Linked DNA regions of Homo sapiens: regions 2, 3, 4 and 5 are each linked to region 1. The links are contacts of gene promoters, found by promoter capture Hi-C in blood cells and fetal thymus (Javierre and others, 2016). All regions are on one chromosome and are shown on one strand. The core of a region is centred on a gene start or on the middle of the fragment in contact, and the rest is flanking DNA. Distances in the headings are between cores, read along the strand shown. Region 1 holds the start of MISFA (mitochondrial sheath formation associated). Region 2 overlaps SAAL1 (serum amyloid A like 1). Region 3 has its middle 11 kb from the start of SAAL1. Region 4 overlaps SAA2-SAA4 (SAA2-SAA4 readthrough). Region 5 overlaps HPS5 (HPS5 biogenesis of lysosomal organelles complex 2 subunit 2).

What was found. The method cuts DNA at HindIII sites, captures the fragments that hold promoters and counts their contacts. A CHiCAGO score of 5 or more calls a contact.
Region 2: a contact is called between a fragment that was not itself captured here and the fragment with the promoter of MISFA in region 1, in 3 of 17 cell types (total B cells, total CD4 T cells and naive CD8 T cells). The highest score is 6.8, in total B cells.
Region 3: a fragment that was not itself captured here is called in contact with the fragment with the promoter of MISFA in region 1 in 1 of 17 cell types (total B cells); the score reaches 7.9 in total B cells.
Region 4: a fragment that was not itself captured here is called in contact with the fragment with the promoter of MISFA in region 1 in 1 of 17 cell types (megakaryocytes); the score reaches 5.1 in megakaryocytes.
Region 5: a contact is called between a fragment that was not itself captured here and the fragment with the promoter of MISFA in region 1, in 1 of 17 cell types (erythroblasts). The highest score is 5.5, in erythroblasts.

The regions. Positions count from the first base shown.
Region 1 is chr11:18,598,487-18,601,114 of GRCh38, forward strand. MISFA (mitochondrial sheath formation associated) reads left to right here and starts at 1,303. Exons shown (of 4, transcript NM_001355570.4): 1 at 1,303-1,511; 2 at 2,606-2,628. The coding sequence starts at 1,443. LOC112268073 (a long non-coding RNA gene) reads right to left here and starts at 1,061. Exons shown (of 4, transcript XR_002957242.2): 1 at 945-1,061. The HindIII fragment of the contact is 4,225 bases long and covers 674-2,628 here.
Region 2 is chr11:18,098,826-18,101,453 of GRCh38, forward strand. All of the region lies in intron 2 of SAAL1 (serum amyloid A like 1), which reads right to left. Among named protein-coding and RNA genes, the nearest start is that of SAAL1, 5.9 kb to the right of the region's middle. The HindIII fragment of the contact is 8,611 bases long and covers 1-2,628 here.
Region 3 is chr11:18,115,409-18,118,036 of GRCh38, forward strand. It overlaps the pseudogene SAA3P. Among named protein-coding and RNA genes, the nearest start is that of SAAL1, 11 kb to the left of the region's middle. The HindIII fragment of the contact is 2,382 bases long and covers 147-2,528 here.
Region 4 is chr11:18,241,343-18,243,970 of GRCh38, forward strand. All of the region lies in intron 3 of SAA2-SAA4 (SAA2-SAA4 readthrough), which reads right to left. It also overlaps a transcript of SAA2 not described here. Among named protein-coding and RNA genes, the nearest start is that of SAA4, 5.9 kb to the left of the region's middle. RefSeq lists an enhancer at 2,440-2,628 and a silencer at 2,460-2,628. The HindIII fragment of the contact is 1,216 bases long and covers 737-1,952 here.
Region 5 is chr11:18,283,765-18,286,264 of GRCh38, forward strand. HPS5 (HPS5 biogenesis of lysosomal organelles complex 2 subunit 2) reads right to left here. Exons shown (of 23, transcript NM_181507.2): 20 at 1,582-1,695; 21 at 31-137. Among named protein-coding and RNA genes, the nearest start is that of SAA1, 19 kb to the left of the region's middle. The HindIII fragment of the contact is 1,553 bases long and covers 475-2,027 here.

The DNA of each region.
Region 1 (2,628 bases), core at 53-2,552:
AACTCAGCAGTGCGGATATTAACCCTAGAGTAAAGGCTGCTCCTGGCCTATCATAAAGCTTCAAACAAGCCTCAGAAGAATCAAACTGATCGCAAGTAACTTAAGTGCACCTTAGAATAAAATTTAACACTGTTGAATACAACAAAATCCAGCACTCGGCAATAAAATTTACCATGTTCAACATCTAATCAAAAGTTGTAAGACATTTAAAGAAGCAGGAAATATCACAACAGGCCAGGCGCGGTGGCTCATGCCTGTAATCCCAGGACTTTGAGAGGCTGAGGCGGGTGGATCACCTGAGGTCAGGAGTTCGAGACCAGCCTGGCCAACATGGTGAAACACCATCTCTACTAAAAATACAAAAATTAGCCAGGCGTGGTGGCGGGTGCCTCTAATCCCAGCTACTTGGGAGGCTGAGGCAGGAGAATCACTTGAGCCCAGGAGGCGGAGGTTGCAGTGAGCTGAGATTGCACCACTGCACTCCAGCCTGGGCGACAGAGCAAGACTCTGTCTCAAAAAAAAAAAAATTGTAGAGATGAAAAATACATTAAATGTCCATGATGTTGTAGCAGAAAAGCAAAAAATATCTTTGGTGACCTCTGAGAGGGTGTCTAATAGTGGGGTGGGGCTAGAAGTCAGAATGTAATGCATGGAAGAGGCGTAGATTGGAAAAAGCTTTGAGTATGGACCACTTGTTTAGGAAGTTTGGTCATAAAAGGAAATTAAGAAATAAGACAGGGAAGGAGCCACAGTATCATCTGGAAGTTTTTTTGAGGAAAGGACAGGGGTACCTGTGGCTTCATGATGGCCAAGAAAAGAGAATCAATGGAGAGGAACTAATCCAAGGTGATGAAGATGTGGATATACCATCATGCTGAGGATCCCCTTGACATGGGGAGAGGAGGTTTTGCAGGGACAGAAATAGAGACATCTGTCTCATTTACCTGTAATTCAGTTTGTTTCGTTCACATGTCGTACACCTAGCAGCAAAACACCTTTCCAAATCTCTGCCTCTAGTGTAAAGAGCCCAGCTGCCCAAGAGGCAGCTGAGTCCTAAGTCTTGGCCCTGATCTGGAGCATCAGCTATGTGCTGTAGTGCGGGTCACTTAGGCTGTAGTCTAAGCCTTAGTTTTCTGATTAGTGAAATGGGGTTAACAATAATGCCTACTTCATAGTGTTGCTGTTTGCTGCTCAGCTGCTGGTCTGGGGGCAGTGTCTCTGGTGTGTTTTGAGTCTGGGCCATATGGTCAATGATGTCACAATGCCCTACTAGATTTCAGCTTCTCCACTAGGGAGTTGTGGATCCTTTGGAGCCAAAGACTCGAACAGACATGCGAGACCTCTACCAACTGAAGGTTTCGTGAGCGCACTCCTTTGCCAAGATCTTGGTGAATAGTCTTTCACTGTGCAATTTTATCTTAGAAATTGTTTTACGTTTGATCATGATTGTGCTTGGCTGGATGTTTTTTGTTGGACTTGTGTGTTACATGGGCACGTTTCCAGAGTTGATGGTAAGTAATGGCTCTGCCTGTAAATCCCTGGTGGTCAGTCCTGTGCTGGCTCATCTTCCTGTCTGGGTTTTCTGACCAAATGGGAAAGATAGTTGAGGTCTCACCACTAACTGGAAGTCAGAATGTGATGGGAACAAAGTTAGTGTCCCAGGCTACCGGGCTACTTCCCATCCCACTAGGGACATCCTTTTTTATTTTTTATTTATTATTATTATTATTTTTTGAGATGGAGTTTTGCTCTTGTTGCCCAGGCTGGAGTGCAGTGGCGCGATCTCGGCTCACTGCAACCTCCGCCTCTCAGGCTCAAGCGATTCTCCTGCCTCAGCCTCCTGAGCAGCTGGGATTACAGGCATGCACCACCACGCCTGGCGAATTTTGTGTTTTTAGTAGAAACAGGGTTTCTCCATGTTGGTCAGGCTGGTCTCAAAGTCCTGACCTCAGGTGATCCACCCACCTCGGCCTCCCAAAGTGCTGGGATTACAGGCATGAGCCACCACGCCTGGCTGGGGACATCCTTTTTTTTTTTTTTTTTTTTTTTTTGGAGACGGAGTCTTGCTCTGTCGCCCAGGCTGGAATGCAGTGGTGCGATCTCGGCTCACTGCAAGCTCTGCCTCCTGGGTTCATGCCATTCTCCTGCCTCAGCCTCCCGAGTAGCTGGGACTACAGGCTCCCACCACCATGCTTGGCTAATTTTTGGTATTTTTAGTAGAGACGGGGTTTCACTGTGTTAGCCAGGATGGTCTAGATCTCCTAACTTCGTGATCCGCCTGCCTCGGCTCCCCAAAGTGCTGGGATTACAGGCGTGAGCCACTGCGCCCGGCCAGGACATCCTTTTAAGTCTTTTTTTGTTTCCCCCTCCCTTGCATATATAGCTGTACTTGTTTCAAAGCACTATGGAATTTGCAAGGGGTCTGCTGGAGACCGTATTTGACTTGCGGATTGCAGGCCAAGTGGATCAGTGGTTATTGGTAGGAAGGGGGACGGTAGGGATTGGTGGGACCTTTTAGCAGCCCTTCTGGTCACCACACAGAGTGGTTACCCACTGGGCCAATGAGTAGAGCCATCTCTGCCCTCAAATTTTCTTTCTGATTCAGCCTCCAACTCTGAAGTGGCAGGA
Region 2 (2,628 bases), core at 57-2,556, 500 kb before region 1:
TTCCTGGAGTAGCACAAGGGTGGCCTAACAATATCAACACCAACAGTAATAAAATTAACATTCATTGAACAAGTATTAAATGCCAGGCACAGTGAAGTGGCTTGCATGCTATCTCATTTAATTCTCAAAACAACTCTATCAACTAGTTATCATTGTTAGCCCCATTACACTCATAAGCAAACTGAAGTTTAAAAAGTGTAGCAACCTGCCCAAGATTATACAGTCTCAGCAGAGCAAAGCTAGGATTTGAACCCATGAGTCTGATTTGAGCCTATGGTCTTGTTTTTTAAAAGAGATGGGGGTCTTGCTATCCTGTCCATACTGGAGCAGTGGCTATTCACAGATTCACAGGCATTATCATAGCTCACTGCAGCCTCCAACTACTGGGCTCAAGTGATCCTCCTGCCTCAGCCTCCCAAATAGCTGGGAATACAGGCAAGTACCCAGCGAGACTATGTTCTTAACCAGCACAACATGCTACCTCTCAGGTATTCATCTATTCATTCATTACTCCCCAAATATTTTCTGAAAAACCTAATAGGCACTGTTTTAGGTTCTGGGGATACATCAGTGAACAAGCTAAATAAGGGCTCAGTCCCATGGAATTTTCATTCTAAAGAAATGAACAAACAATAAATATAAAACAACTAAACTACACAATTTCTAAATGCTACAAAGAAAATAAGATATGTGCTAGAAACCAAGATAAAGCGGGCTACTTTAGACATGACATTGAAAAGAAGGCATTTCAGAAGGGGTGACATTATGCTTTGATGAGAAGGAATTTAAATCCATCAGAGGACACATGTAACAGAGTGAAGCAATTCTGTGGGAACACCAAAACAAGACAGGTTAATTCTGACTGGAGTGTCTGGGGTGGCATCACAGAGGAGGTGACATTGAAGCCGGGCCATAAACAATGAGAAGGATTTTGCCAGCTGGAAGCCATTCTAAGCAGAGCGGCATGAATAGTGCCCATGGACACGTGAAAGTGCAGGAAGTATCTGGAGGTCTCTGGTCCTCGCACACTGAATTCATGGTTACAGAACGATAGGCGACAAGACTGAGATATAAACTCACCAGACTTTGCGCCAGGGACCTCAATTGTCAGTGGAGAGCTCAGTTCTGAGTGGTGCCTCAAGGGCACCTCTTGTAAGGGAGCAAAAGGAGGCCAAAGAACATGACTTTGCCCTGCACCAATAACCTCCTTCAAACAGTAGCGCTGTTTTCTCAATTTTAAAACTGAGACTTTCACCCTAAGAGTTCATTTAAAACACAGGTTTTATTTCTTTTTAAAAAAATTTGTTTAACCATAATTTATCAATAATTGTAGAATAGAAAGTAGATCTGAACAATACTCTCAACCAACCTGATCTGACATTGAGAATAAGATATTCCACCCAGCAACAGCAGAACACACATGCTTTTTAAGTCAACATGGTAAATATTTCAGGTTTACTTAAAACCATATTCTGGGCTATAAAACAAATCTCAACACATTTAAAAGGATTCAGTGTTCACCAACCACAGCAAGAGAAAGATAACTGAAACATTCCCAAATATTTGAAACTTACCTATAAACCAAAGAAAAAGTAAAGAATATTAGAAAGTATTCTGAACTTCTGCGGGCATGGTGGCTCACGCCTGTAATCCCAGCACTTTGGGAGGCCGGGGCAGGGGGATCACTTGAGGCCAGGAGTTCAAGACCAGCCTGGCCAACATGGCAAAACCCCATCTCTACAAAAAATACAGAGCGAGACTCTGTCTCAAAAAAAATTGTAAACACAGCATATCAGAAATTGTGGAATACTGGTAAAGCATAAATATTTAGGGAAAATTCTATAGTGCTTGATGTCTATCTTTAAAAAGAAAAGATTTCAAACTATAAAGTATGTGGACAACTGATTTTTGACAAAGACACAAAAGCAATTAGTGGAGAAAGGATCGTCTTTTCAACAAATGAACTTGAACAATTAAATATCCATAAGCAAAAAAATAAACTTCATCCATCCTTGCACCATATACTATACAAAAATCAACTCAAAATGGATCACAGACTTATATGTAAAACCTAAAATTATAAAACTTTTAGAAGAAAATGTAAGAAAACAACACAATTAAAAAGCAGGCAGAAGATTCAAACAGGTACTTCACCAAAAAAGATACACAGAGTACAAATAAACACATGAAAAGATGCTCATCATTAGGAATTAAGGAAGTCCAAATTATAATCACAATGAGCTATCATTACATACTTATTAGCATGGCTAAAATTAAGAAGACTGACCATACTAAGTGTTGGTGAGGTTGAGGAGAAATTGGACCTGGAATTATGTCTCATACACTGCTTGTGGTTATGTAAAATGGTAAAAAACTGCTTAGGAAAACAAATTGAAAGTTTCTTAAAAAGTTAAGCATACACCTACCGTATGATCCAGCCATGCCACTTGATATATGGTCTGGCTCTGTGTCCCCTCCTAAATCTGACCTTGAATTGCAATCCCCATAATCCCCACGTATCAAGGGCAAGACTAGGTGGAGGTAAGTGAATCACGGGGGTGGTTTCCCCCATGCTGTTCTCATGATAATGAGTGAGTCTCATGAGATCTGATAGTTTTATAAGCGTCT
Region 3 (2,628 bases), core at 88-2,587, 480 kb before region 1:
GTGTGTGTGTGTTAGTGTGTGTGTGTGTGTGTGTGTGTTAGCTTCTCTGTTAAGGGATAATGCTGCTTGCATCATAGGACTAAATGATGGAAACCAATTCATTAGTACATTTAAACAGTGCCTAGTACGTATTAAAATCTCAGCTAAGCTTGGTTGTTTTTATGGGGACGGTTGGCTCCGTTCAGCTTCCCCATGGACTCGCCTCACACTTTTGATCCACCTGCTTCCTGGCTTCCCAGGAGACATAGACATGAACTGTCCCAGATTTCCCACTAGGGGGCAGTAGAGCCCCACCGGTATTATGGGAACATGCACCCCTCAACTCCACATCTCTCTCATGGTCCTGCTGAAAAGAGGCAGCTCACACCTTATGCGACCTCGGCTGGAGGATCCTCATAGAAGAGTGTCAAAGCTGTCCAGAAAAGCATGAGGAACCACGCTTATGAAAAACCATGCCCCTTCTCTATCCATCTGTGGCATCACTAGCACCTTTGCCCAGTGGGGATGTGGCCTCTGCTCAGCTGCATCCTGGGGGCAGCCAGAAGCAGCCTCCTGCCCCCTATCCTGTGGACCTCACCTTGGCCAGCTGCCTTGAGGAATGTTAACCATCCTTGGCTGCTGACACCCAGGACCAGGGAGCAGAAAATGATGCCAGTGGAGAGCTTCATCCTGCTGCAGGGCCAAGGAAACACAACCAAGGATAATACACATTCTGTTTCAAGTTTTTATTTTTTGTAATGTTAGTCCATTCTTTCATTCCAAGAAAAAAACCCACTCGGTTTTACACACGCACACACACACACACACACACACACACAGGTGTATGTGTATAGATAAAAGATAGAAGGTCAGAGGGTCTACGTCTCCATTTCCATTTGTCTCATTGGAATCCCAGTATCTGACAGAAGAGGAGCAGTGACCCAGGATAAAGCAAATAGACAAAAGTCACACCATGTTTGAGAATCATTATTTTAGATTAGAGCCTGCCAAAATTAGGAATTATGCCTCTTTCTGGGTTCTGAGCATATTTTAGGCACAGTAAAATGAAAGTTATAAGGCAGATAGCTGTCAGAGGATTTCCCTGTCCCTTTGGTTCTTATCTAAGGCAATGCTAAGCAACATTTGAATATTCCCTACACAACTTCCATTCCTTGGAAAAGGTGGGATTCCCTGTGGTCAGTGTAGTATCTGAGCTGGCGTGGCTCACTTGGTCCCAGGAGTAGACAGTAGAAGAGGGGGAAGAGGAGGGGAGTTGTCAACCATCCACAGCCACTGGTCATGGTGTACTTGGAGGAGCTGCTTCATAAAGCAGGGCATGTGATGTCCAGACCTCCTTTTTCCTACTCTTCTTCAGGCAGAAATTGAGGGCCAATGATCACATCCTGTCACAATTATTTTACTCCCTTTGGAACCATTCAATGCTGGAAATCTACTTTCTCGTTTTATTCAAGTCATTCTCTTCTTTGATAGAAGTTGATATGGTTTGGATCTGTGTCCCCACCCAAATTTCATGTTCAATTGTAATTCCCAATGTTGGGAGTGGAGCCTAGAGGGCGGTGATTGAATCAGGAAGGCTGTTTCTCATGAAAGGTTTAACAGCATCCCCCTTGGTACTGTCGTCGTGATAGTGAGTGAATTCTTTTGAGATCTGGTTATTTAAAAGTGTGCAGTACCTCCCCCCTCACTCTCTTTTGTCCTTGCTCCCACCATATGAGATGCCTCACTCCCGCTCTGCCTTTGCCATATTGAAAGTTTCCTGAGGCTTCCCCAGAAGCAGAAGCCACTATGCTTCCTGTACAGACTAAAGAACCATGAACCAATATAACCTCTTTTCTTTATAAAGTACCCAGTTTCAGTCATTTCTTTATGGCAGTATGAGAACGGACTAATACAGAAGTATTAGAAAGCAAGTGGCGTGGAGACACTGGCTCATGCTTATAATACCAGCACTTTGGGAGGCTGAGGCAGAAGGATCACTCGAGGCCAGGAACTCAAGACCAACCTGGGAAACATAGCAAGACCCCATCTCCACTATATATCTGTATATATATTTTTTAAATTAGCGGGGTGTGGTAGTATGCACCTGTGGTCCCAGCTACTCAGGAGGCTGAGGCAGGAGGACTGCTTGAGCCCAGGAGTTGGAGGCTATGGTGAGCCATAATCACACCACTGCACTCTAGCCTGGGTGACAAAGTGACACACTGACTCACAGGAAAAAGAGCAAGAAAGCGAGTATGATTTCTAGATACCAAGAGGAACTCCTCACAGGGACTTTGACAAGCCTTGCCTGTTTTCTTCCTTTGTTACTTAATGTATTCTGCCTTCCGGGAAGGTACACGCAGTTTCTTATGGTGCCAAGCTGAGAATAATAGACAATAACGGCAGTCAGTTCTTTTCACTTGTTTCTCCTGAAAAAGAAAGATTTCCTGTCATGATATCAGAGTCCCCAGGCCTTAAAGGGATTTTCCAACAGTCTCTTACAAGTGACTACGTGTGCTGGTTTGCATGAGATCAGTGTCTATTGTCCAAGCTTAATAGTGGCACATCTTTTCATTGTCTACAATGGCCTGGATTGAACAGTAAATCAGATGGTAGCACTACTCTGATAACCTTGTGTGACCAGGCTGA
Region 4 (2,628 bases), core at 95-2,594, 360 kb before region 1:
AAAAATAGAGCTACCATTTGACCCAGCAGTCCCATTACTGGGTACTACCCAAAGGAAAATAGATCATTATATAAAAAATATACCTGAATGCATGTATTTATCACAACACTATTATTCACAGTAGCAAAAATATGGGATTAACCTAAGTGTCTTAGGTTAATCAACGAATGATTGGAGGGGTGTGTGTGTATGTCTGTATACACATATATACACCATAGAATACTATTCAGCCATTAAAAAGAATGAAATCGTATCTTTTGCTGCAACATAGATAGAACTAGAGGCCATTATCTTAAGTGAAATAACCCAGAAAGTCAAATATCACATTTTCGCACTTATAAATGGGAGCTAAATAATGTGTACACATGGACATAGAAAGTGGAATAATGGACACTGGAGACTCAGAAAGATGGAGGGCAGAAGGGGGCCGAGGATTGAGAAATTACCTGACAGGTACAATGAACTCTACTTGGGTGATGGTTACACTAAGAACCCAGATTTCACCATTATGCAATCTATCAGTGTAACAAATCTGTACTTGTACCCCCTAAATCTATAAATAAATAAATGAATGAATATTTTAAATAACAATAATAAATGCTGAATGAACACATGGAAGCACATTTCTGAACGTTTGAAATAATTCCTAATTCAATGACATGTTTAAAAATAACAAGCAGCTCAATTTGCATGTAGCATGAGGCACATTAATTAGTCATAGGAGATAAGACTGAAAAGCTTGGATACCCTATTAGTCAGGGTTCTTGAGAGACACAGGACAAATAATTTATTTGTGTATGTATGTATGTATTTATTTATTGTAAGGAATTGGCTCACAAGATAATTGGGGCTGAGAAGTCCCACGATCTGCCCTCTGCAAGCTAGAAACTCAGGAAAGTGTAATTCAGTCTGAGTTCAAAGGCCTGAGAACCAGAGCAACTGATCACGTAAATCCAATTTGAGGGCAAGAGAAGATGAGAGGAGATGTCCAACTCAAGCAGTGAGGCAGGGGAAAAGGGAGGCAAATCTGTCCTTCCTCTATTTTTGTTCTATTCAAGCCTTCAACAGATTGGGTGATGCCCAGTTGCATTGAGAATAGCAATCTACTTTATTAAGTCCAATTCAAATGTTAATCTCCTCTGGAAACACCCTCACAGACGACCCCAGAAACAATGTGAATCTGGGCAGCCTCAAACCGACACAAAAATAAATATAACAGTAGGCTGGGCTCAGTGACTCATGCCTGTAATCCCAGCACTTTGGGAGGCTGAGGCAGGCAGATCACTTGAGCCCAGGAGTTCAAGACCAGCCTGGGTGACACGGCGAAACCCCATCTCTACAAAAAATATAAAAATTAGGCAAGTGTCATGGCGCACATCTGCAGTCCCAGTTATTCAAGAGGCTGAAGTGGGAGGATCTCTTGAGCCCCGGGAGGTCGAGGTTGCAGTGAGCCATGATCATGCCATGGCACTTCAGCCTGGATGAAAGAGGGAGATGCTGTCTCAAATAACGAAACAAAACAAAACACAACTATAACAAAGAGCAATGCAATTTCCCTTTCTCAAACTTTTCTAACAGAGAGAAGCATGTTAATTCTTACTGAGGAAAACCAAGTAATTAATAAAAGGTATTTGGGTGTGCCAGAGCATAGGTATTAGGTGTGACTTTACAAATTATAAATTCCTGGGTAAACCAAGCACCTTTTTCCTTGGATACAAATTTCGATTTAAAAATTTTTTTCTTGTTTTTTTTATACTTTTTCTTCCTCTGAACCTATGGACTATATTGAATTAAATTTTTTTTCAAATTATAGATTTCAAGAAGGGGAGTGATTTGGTCCTTTACAGACGGATGAATGAATTTCTGTATCCAAATGTTGCTTCAGTTAATTATTTCTAGTAATAATATGTTGATTGCAAAGTTTTGAATATCTACAAAGACTAGACTTTGAAAGCTTGCTTTATTTGACTTTGAAAGCCATTCTTTCTCTCATCCTCCCTTTCTCTCCCTCCTGCCCCCCAAAATCTACAACTTCAGTACTTGTGACAGAAATCTAATTGTAAGCATTTACAATTGCTATTGTAATAATAGCATTACAGTCTTTTTTTACAACTTGGGGTCAACTCAGACTTTACTAGACTGAACACTAATCTCAACAGTGCATTGAGTCTGCTCCCATGAGCCAATCTTCCACGCCTCTCTCCATCTTATTTATCTTGCCCTTGCCTTGTTTTGGCATTGGCACATCTTTGAGACTCAGACTCAAACCTCCTATACCTCCTATACCTACACTTCTATTAGTGTCTTTTGATGAGAACTGTATGAGAAAGTTCTGTTGTAAATAGTTCTACTTTATATCCATACATTTTCTTCCTCCTTGACAAATAAATTTGTCTTTACTCTGTAAATATAATTTTATAACTAGTCTTCTCACCTTAGGAGTCCTCCTCAATCCTTTTTCAGAGAAAAGGGGTATGCCAGTTATCAGTTTCTTTATTTTCAGCTCCACACCCACCCCTTTGTCCTATTTGTGATGCTGGAGCTGGACCCTGTGAACATTTCTCCTTTGCCAGTTGGGCATGATGTTAATCTTCACCCATAGAGGGCGCTAGAGGGCCAAGCAGGAGA
Region 5 (2,500 bases), core at 1-2,500, 310 kb before region 1:
ACCAAGAGTAACCAGTTAGGATTGACATACCATTGTCCCCTTCCATCAGGCTCATATCATTCAGATACACAATATTGGTGAAGGCCTCTCTTCTTCTCTCCAGCTCCAAACAGAGAATTAGATATCCAGGCCAGAAACTTTAAAGAGACCGAAGTTGAAGAAAGGAATAAAAGGCCATGAATTTATCTGGAGCTGTGCTGCCCAAAACAGTAGACACAGTCACATGTGGCTATTTCAATTTAAATTAATTAAAAGTAAATAACATCTGAAAGTCAGTTTTTCAGTTAATATATTCACATTTCAAGTAGTCAATGGCTACATGTGGCTAGTGGCCACCATTGGACAGTTCAGTAGAATATCTCCACTATCACAGAAAGTTCTATTAGATGACCCTGATCTAGGGAAAAAAAAAAAACAAAAAACCTAGCAACAAATGCTGACATTTGAGGCCAAGCTCCAATTATAAGGCATTTAAGCTTTATTCAATTTATAAACTTTAAAATTCAACACAAACCTAGCATATTTCTTCTCCAAATATGTAAACCTTGGAAGTCTTCCTTGACTCTTCCCCCTCCTTCATTTGCTATATCCAGTATCAGCATGTCCCACTGCATTTTCCTTTGAAATGCCCACTGGATGTGCTCCTTTTGCTGCCCTACTAATCACCAATCCACTCATATCTGAATTACTCCAACAGCTTCCTAGCTGGCCTTCTGTCTCCAGCCTTCTCATATATGACATCAGAAATGATCTCTAGAAAGCTCCACTTTCATTACACAATTTTTGCACCAAGTAGTTCAGTCTAAAAGGGTCTCTACTGATAACTAAATTATTCTACCAGCTTTCAAGGTCCTGCATGATCTTGTCACCCACCACCTGGCCAGACTCAGCCCTCATTACAATGAACAAATATGTATCAAGTGCCTACCACTATACAAATTAGATATAGACATTATGAGGGAAAAGAAAGACACAAGTTGCTATCTCCAAAAGATTATAATCCAGTTGGAGCCATAAGCCAGTATCACCAGGCAATAAATAACTGACTGAAGTGTGACATGGATAATAAGCAATGCCAGTTTTCCACGCCCTTGCTCTGTTTCTCTCACCTAACTCACCCTCTCCTGGCTCCTTTATAAATACAAATCCTACCCAGGTTTTAGGTTTTACCTCCAAAATCTCACCTCCTCCTTGAGTCCTTCACCAGCGATGCTATTGAGCCCATTTTGATCTCTCTCTTACTGTATTAATTATAAAAGTCTATCAATTATAATTGGTATCACATAATCTGGTGCTTAATTAAATACTATCTACATGCCTGAGAACTGGGGCTGGCAACTAAGCAGAGGGAGTGGAGGGGAATTAGCTAAGGCTATTTAAAAAAAAAAAAAAAAGAAAAAAGCAAGAAATTTAAATGGAAAAAAGATGTTTAATTTACTATCACTTAAAACAAAAAGGTACTTTTAAATAGCAAAGAGAATCCCCAAATATTAATGTGTATTAATTCAGACCCTTAACTATAAAGTTGTTAACTGAAATGTTTCTAACCTTAACTTCAGTTTCTAAAAAATTCTCACTTACCCACAAGACCTGCAGATGTCTGTCATTTTCTCTTTGGTTATAAAATCTGCAGGAAGTTTAATTAGATGAAGGATCAGCTGACTGTAACCCCAGGAAAGCAAGTGTGAATGAGGCCTATGAAATGAAAAGGAATCAGTAAATTAGATAGGAAATAAACTCTAGAAAATGCTTATTTATCACCTAATAGGTAAGAATAGAGTTTAACTGCATTCTATTACTACATTTTAAAAACATTGCTATTTGGCTTTTGAAAACTTAAAAATAGCTATTTTTCCTATAACCTGTTTATTTTTAAAGATTAGATACTTTAGGTAATCAAAAGCAAAAGAAATAAATTCTTTTTTCTTCTTTTAATTCTATCATTCCATCACTCACAGATAACCACTGCATATCCTTCCAGACTTTTTGCTAGGAATATAAGACAGGCATTTGGGGGTCTTTTAAGAAGCTTCTCCTGGGAGGAAACGCAAGCAATAGTTCTGACACAAGTACCAGTGTGTACTTTAATTTTATTTTATTTTTAAAGTCCTAGATCAGGTTATGTCTAAAAATTCCTTGACACATTTTTAGGAAGAAAACACATACATACCTATCTCCCTAACCCCCACACCCAGTTTTATCCTCTCACAGGCTTAATCACCAAGGTCTCTTAATGTGGGCCCATGAAAAACCTGCAGGCGGTCAGCTGTGCAAAGTTTTGCATGACTGCATTTTTCTAAAAGGAATCATCAGATTCTTATAGGGTGACCCCAAAAAATTTCAGAACCACTAAGAAATATACTTAATCTCATTACTACCATGACTTGGGTCAGTCTCTTCCATAGCTATTTCTAAAGTGAGCCCAGAATGCCATATGTGAATAAACCAGTTCCATTCCAAAGGAACACTGGAGCTTAATCCTTAGAAATAAGACTCCTAG